2 separate regions of the Homo sapiens genome follow, and region 1 is linked to region 2. Evidence: promoter capture Hi-C in 16 types of primary human blood cells and fetal thymus (Javierre and others, 2016). All regions are on one chromosome and are shown on one strand. The core of a region is centred on a gene start or on the middle of the fragment in contact, and the rest is flanking DNA. Distances in the headings are between cores, read along the strand shown.

Region 1 (3,264 bases), core at 432-2,931, 250 kb before region 2:
GCAAAGCCTCTTAACAGTAAATATTTGCAACATATATGATAAGAATAAGAATCCAGAATCACATGAATGAACAAACGGGAAGACTGTACACATCAAGAAGATAAACATCTCAATATAAAATCGGGCAAGACAGAAAAATTCACAGAAAAGAACTAAATGAGAGATGTTCACCAATATTAGTATTCAGAAAAATTAGCACTGAAACCACAACAGAACACTATTTTATAATCCTCAAATGGCAAAACTTTAAAAGACTGTCAATTCCAAAGAAGATACAGAAAATGACAGTGAGATGGTAAATCGGCACAGCCACTTTGGAGATCAATTTGATAATGTCTAGTAAACTTAAGATATATATCTAAAATCACACAGATGCAAGTAAAAAAAAACTTACAAAAATATTCAGAATGGGACTGATGTAACTTCAATATATTGAAGAAAAACTTTTTTTACTGTAGAATGATTTTGATTTATTTTTGCCATAAAATTGACATAATTTTATACAATTGTGTACCAGTTTTATAGCAAAATAAATGAACTAGAGATATCTATCAACATAGTTAAATCTCACAATGTTAAGCGCATAAACAAAAATGCATTTTGTTTATAGGCTGTATATATCTATTATTTACAAGTATATATAGAGGTAGTAAAGGTTGAAAGGAATGCATGGTAAATATCAATTTCAAAAGTGTGGTTACTTCTAAAGAGGATGGAGGAAAAGGTAATAATACAGAAGGGATATGCGTGGGGGACTTCATCTCTGCTGATAATATTTTATTTCTTAAGCTGGATAATGGTTATATATTTTTGTATATCTTAAATATTTATGAATAATTATTTCAAAGAAGTTAACGCTATATAGAAAAAATCAAAACCATTGTGAAAATAAATAATAGAAAATAATATAGAACTGCCTATTTTCTCAACTCCCTATCTTTTATCAAGTCCCAAACGTGTCATTATTTTTCAAGCTTTCATATACTGGATTACCAAGAAGACTATAATAATCATGCCTAACAATATAAAAACAGAGACTGAAAACATTCCATATTTTGCCAAAGTCCCTTCCAACATAACGACCTACAGAACTGCTGAAAAATGTACAACTTTGCACATTGTGTCAAACACATTTTACTATATTCTCAAACTATGGTCCCTGTCAGAATCACCTGGAAAATTCAGGAAAAGTATAAAAGCTCAGGCCTTATCCTCCTTCACTGAAGCTGGAGTGCTAAGGATTTTATTAGCTCTCTACGTGATGCTAATACAGAACAATGTTGGAAAACTGCTGCTCTAGACCAATGGTTATTAATCTTAGCTGCACATTTGGATCACCTGGCAAATTACAAAAATAAGCAGGCCTGGGATCCACTCCTTAAGAATTAAATCAGAATTTCTGGGACAGAGCCTAGGAAATAGAGAAAAAGAGAAGCAAACAGAAAGTAGTAAAATGAAAACCACTAAATGATAATCCATGATTCCTACTGTTACAGGAAAACAGAGAAGCCCCAGGTGCTTGTGGGCTGACCAGTGTAATGGGTAGAGAGAAGAACCAGAAAAAACCTAAAGGAATCTGTCACAGACTTTCTCTCCTAACACATTTTCTGTAGTAAGCATGTGGGCCTTTTAGTTTTAAAAATACTTTCTCACATATTTTTGTATAAAAAAGAGAAATTGCCACCCTATTCTCAAAAGCCTATTCTAAAGGTGAAATCAATTATCAACTAGAAACTTTCTCGAAAGTAATTCCCTATGTCTTTCCACAATATGGGGTGAAAATAATTTACTGATAAGATTACAGGCGCCTTGAAATGCATAAACCATTAGGGCATTAGGAAACAGCAGATCTAAGATTTAAAAAAAAAGAAAATCAAAACTTCAGCAACTACAGCATTCAGGAAAGAAAGAGGGCAAAGTTGCAAGGACAAATGCAAGCTGGTTAAAAGGACATGATCCCAGACTGAGGCAGAGTCAGCTTGAGTGAGTCAGTGGCATCAACCATTTCCTGCCACTGGAGGGAACAGGAGGAGCTCCTCACAATTCGCATTAGACCTCAGTCACTCAACTCTGCCACCCACCCTATTCCCAGTGCTGACTCCTCTAACCTGTGCCACCCCATCCTGCTCTGATCTGTATTGTCCAGGTCACCACAGCCTTCACCATTAACAGCAGCCTTTATGCTACTCTGAAAAAAAAAATAAGCATTCCTCTGCAGTTGTTTAAAATGGCCATCAAGTTCTCTTAACACACTTTGTGTCAAGAGGTGGAGTCTGTCGCTGTTCCTGTTGAAGCTGGGCCGCCCTGAGACTGATCTGATCAACAAAATGCATCAAAAGTGATACTATGCTGGTTTAGGTGTGGTATTTAAGAGAACTGGAAGCTTTTGCCTCTGTCTCTTGCAGCACTGAGCCACCATGTAAGAAGTTCAGCTACCCTGCTGGAGAGAGTACCAAGAGAGACTCCGTGACTACATGGAGGGGAAGAGGGTGCAGTCAGTCTTACCACCATTTTCACCAAGGTACCAGGTATGTGAGTAAAGTCATCTTGAAACCTCCAGACAAGATCAGCCACCAACTAAATACCACCATATCATGTAATCCCAGTAAATGCTATGTGGAACAGAACCATTCAGCCAAACCCTGGCAGAATCTCTGACTTACAAAATCACTACATATAATAAAACAATTGTTGCTGCAAACCACTAAGTTTGGATAGTTTGTAATTCAGTAGACAAATGGAGAAGCTTGCCCTAAGAAAACAGAAGTCTAAGAAAATAGAAGACTTAGAGCAATTTCAGTTAGACTGGTGCTTTGGCTGGAATGTGCCCCCTCCAAAATTCACGTGTTGCCAGTATGTTAGTATTAACAGTGGGGCCTTTAAGAGGTGATTAGGCCATGAAGCCTCCTCCCAGACAAAGGGAATTAGGTGCCCTTATAAAGGAGACAGTGGGCTGTCTCTTGCTGTCTACGTGCTGCCATGTGAGGATGCAGCAAGAAGGTCCTCACAAGATGCCAGCACCTTGGTCTTGTTCTTTCTAGTCTCCATCCATAACTATGATAAGTAAATTTCTGTGTTTGATAAATTACTCAGTCTTGGGCATTATGTTATAGCAGCACAAAAGAACCTGATGTTGTGAACAAAAAAGGTGGAACCAGAAAGTCTCCACATGAAGAAAATGAGTAGAATGAGACAAAGTATCCCATCTTCAAATAGAGCAGGAATTTTAGAAGTTGAAAGCACTTGATGATAAAGGAATTTCAA
Region 2 (3,160 bases), core at 331-2,830:
ATATTAGCGCAATAATAGCCTTCACTTACTGAGTACTGTACACAACACACTGTGCTAAAATGGCCAGTAGGGATCAGAAGAGGGAATCAGACAGGTAATTAAAGTAACTCACCAGAGGCCAAAAATCTTGGCCAGAATCAGAATTCAAACCCACATCTATAGGACTGCAAAGCTTTTGCTCTTTCCTTCAAGTCTACTATGTAATTTTATGTTTATCACTGTTAGTATCTAATTTAAGTTGAAACTAGTAATCAGACTCATTATGTCGAGCTGATGATTATTAAAATACAGCACCATATGTTTATAGTGAGAGTGTTCTTACGACATGGTCATTTCCAAGACTACTACTCCTGCACCCTCCCCACCTCCGCAACCACCATACAGAGAGAGGCTGTGAGAAGCGTGGCTTTCACCTTGGAACAAGTGCCCAGGGACCAGGGGCAAAGCAGTCAGTGTTTCTCTCCTACTGATGTTATGGAACTGGTAACATAGGAAGGTCAGGAAGAGTCCTGTAGTCTTGAGCCAGGCCAAAAGGCTCAAGGGCTCCACCCCATGCCCTCTGTTACTCTAAGAGAAAATGGGTCCCTTGGATCCAGGCTTCAGATGACCAGACTCACACCGGAGCATCACTACAAATGTCTGCTTCAGCTTACTGTTCCCCAGAATGAGAATAAATGAGTGGCCAGCAGGATAAAACATTGTCATTACTTCGCCAATCATCTTAGCCATCTTGGTTTTTGGTAGGAAATTACCAAATGATGCAATTAAGAAAGCAAGAAAGTAAAGTAAGAAGAGAAAGAAGAAGGAAAGGATGATTCTGATGGCCCTCTTGTGGGCCTCAGTGGTTGGATCTCTGGAGCTTGTCCCATTTTGCAGCATCTGCCGTGTGTGCCTCCCCAGGGAGAAGATGAGCAAAGAGTAGGAGGCCAGGGACACAATTAAGGGAGGCAGGTACCACAGAGTCCCAAGAACATGGATCAGATAATACTCACTCCTCTTCTTTCTGAAGTGTTCAGTCACATTCCTGGTGGCCTCAATTCCCCTAAAGACAGAATAGAGCTTAAACTCATTGATCAGAGATGCGGTACTACCACAGGATAAGAGCAGTGCACCCAACAGCATCCATACCATCACCCTAGAAACTCTCCACTTGAGCCAGAGGAATGTGGGGTGAGAGAAACTGGCGATTTTCAGGCAGTAGAGGACACCAAGACAGGTGGCAAGCCAAATGCTCAGATGGTTTGTAAATGTCCAGGAAACATCAATAATTTGCATTATTATCCCTGAATCATGTGTGTTGGGAGAGAATTCTATTAAAAAACTATCAGTCAAGATAATACACAGCAGAATGATCCTCAAGAGTGCCAGGGTGGTGATGATGAAGTCAGACAAAGACATTCTCTTGGTCTTGAACCAGCTGCTACCATTGACCAACTCAATGAAACAATTGACCAGAATTCCCAGTGTGAACTGAGTGCCAGACAGAATCAGGAACACCCCCTCGGTGAGTCCCATCATGTCAGCAATTAGGCAGCCCTGATCTTTGTTCTTTCTGTTGATACATAGAATCTCCTCACTGATGTGATATTTTTCTCGTTAATCTACTCCTCTACCTGTTGCTTCACTGTACCTGTCTCTTGTCTCTGCCCAATTTAGTCTGTCGTAGAGCACAATTTAGGAAATCCTCTCTGGCTCTTTCAGGTTAGTCTGTCCTCTTCACAGATGATATGGATTGTCATATTCCATCAATGAACCTAAACTTTGCAGCTCTTTGCTAAAATGCAAATGAGTAGTGTCCAGTGTCACATAGAGAAGGAAGAGATCTAGGTCACAAAGATGATGGAGGACTTGGACTCAGTTTCAAAGGGTGTAGGGCTCTGAGTTACCCAAAACAGAAAGATGAGCGGCACCAAATGGAGGCGGCTCAGAATTACTCAGAAGAGTAAAAAGTCTCATTCCTCAGGAGGGAGGACTCAGAGATACAGAAAAGGAATTCCACTAGGAGCCACTATCCACCTGGAGTGAGGTTTAAGTGCATAAAATTGTAAAAGTTCAGTGCCATTGATCATGGATTAGAATTAAAAGGCATGCCCCTTGGAGCCTGGCTTACATGCAGAGAGATGGCTGTAAGCTATAAGCTAGCAAGAGAAGCCTCACCAGAAAGTGGCCAAGCTTACATCCCGAACTTGGACTTGCAGTGGGAAGTCTCAGACCCACTCTGGATTGCTAGTCTGCTATAATACTGTCCAGGGAGGCATAAGAACAATACTTCTGTTCTTAACCTAAGAGCTCCTCTATTTAACAAGCGGCTATTAATTAAGGATCTTCATTCAGGACTATATGCAGAATTAAGCAGTACGTAGTTTGTATTAAAGTATGCTTATGTTGACTCTTTTTAAAGCTAATTGCTAAGGTTTGTATACTTTTTATGTCCTACTCCCTTCCCTAAATTTAATGAGACATTAGTTTAAAACCTAAAGGATTGTGGGAATAAAGAAAAGATTTTACTTCTACTTGCCGTGAAAGGTCATGTAAGAGAAAGATAAGAGTAAAGAGTTGCTCATGTATACGGAGATAAAGTCAACAATATATGAATAAGAAAGAATTAGGTTTAAGTACACAACACAAGTAAATGGCTTAGAGGAGAGGTATATTTTTGTCTCCCAAAGCAGTCCAGAGGCAAACTGTCCAGGCTGGTATGGTGGTTGCATAGTGATTGCAGATCCCAGCTTCTTCTACCTTCCATTCTGAAGACTGCCTCATGGTCCAAGATGGCAACTGGAAATCCAGCCATGAAATGTCCACATTTCAGACAAAAAAGAAAATGCTGTAGGACGAGAGTCTGGGGAAGCACACAGGATACGCCTCCCAAGAGTAACTCATATAGAAAGTTCCCTGAGAGCATCACCAAGTGACTTCTGCCTATAGCCCCTTGGCAACCCCTAACTGAAAAGAACAGGAATGCAGTACATGTGCTGTGCACCCTGTCACATCTGGGTTCTATAAATACAGAAGGGACAATAGATACTGGGTAGTGCATTAATCATGTTTATTTTCTGTATTTTATGCTTTGACACTTTTGGGCCTTGCAGACCCAGAGAGGGCATGCCCTCCCAAGGTTAGCTAATTCCTGGAGTTAGCCAACTTGCCTGAGAAAACT

Evidence for each region. Contacts are between HindIII fragments. The CHiCAGO score rates a contact against its expected background, and 5 or more counts as called.
Region 1: a contact is called between a fragment that was not itself captured here and the fragment with the promoter of TAS2R3 in region 2, in 1 of 17 cell types (monocytes). The highest score is 5.1, in monocytes.

Annotation. Positions count from the first base shown.
Region 1 is chr7:142,012,064-142,015,327 of GRCh38, reverse strand. The region is part of intron 3 of MGAM (maltase-glucoamylase); the gene reads right to left. Among named protein-coding and RNA genes, the nearest start is that of MGAM, 18 kb to the right of the region's middle. The HindIII fragment of the contact is 1,409 bases long and covers 977-2,385 here.
Region 2 is chr7:141,762,517-141,765,676 of GRCh38, reverse strand. TAS2R3 (taste 2 receptor member 3) reads right to left here and starts at 1,580. Exons shown (of 1, transcript NM_016943.2): 1 at 480-1,580. The coding sequence starts at 1,518. The coding sequence ends at 568. The HindIII fragment of the contact is 2,000 bases long and covers 175-2,174 here.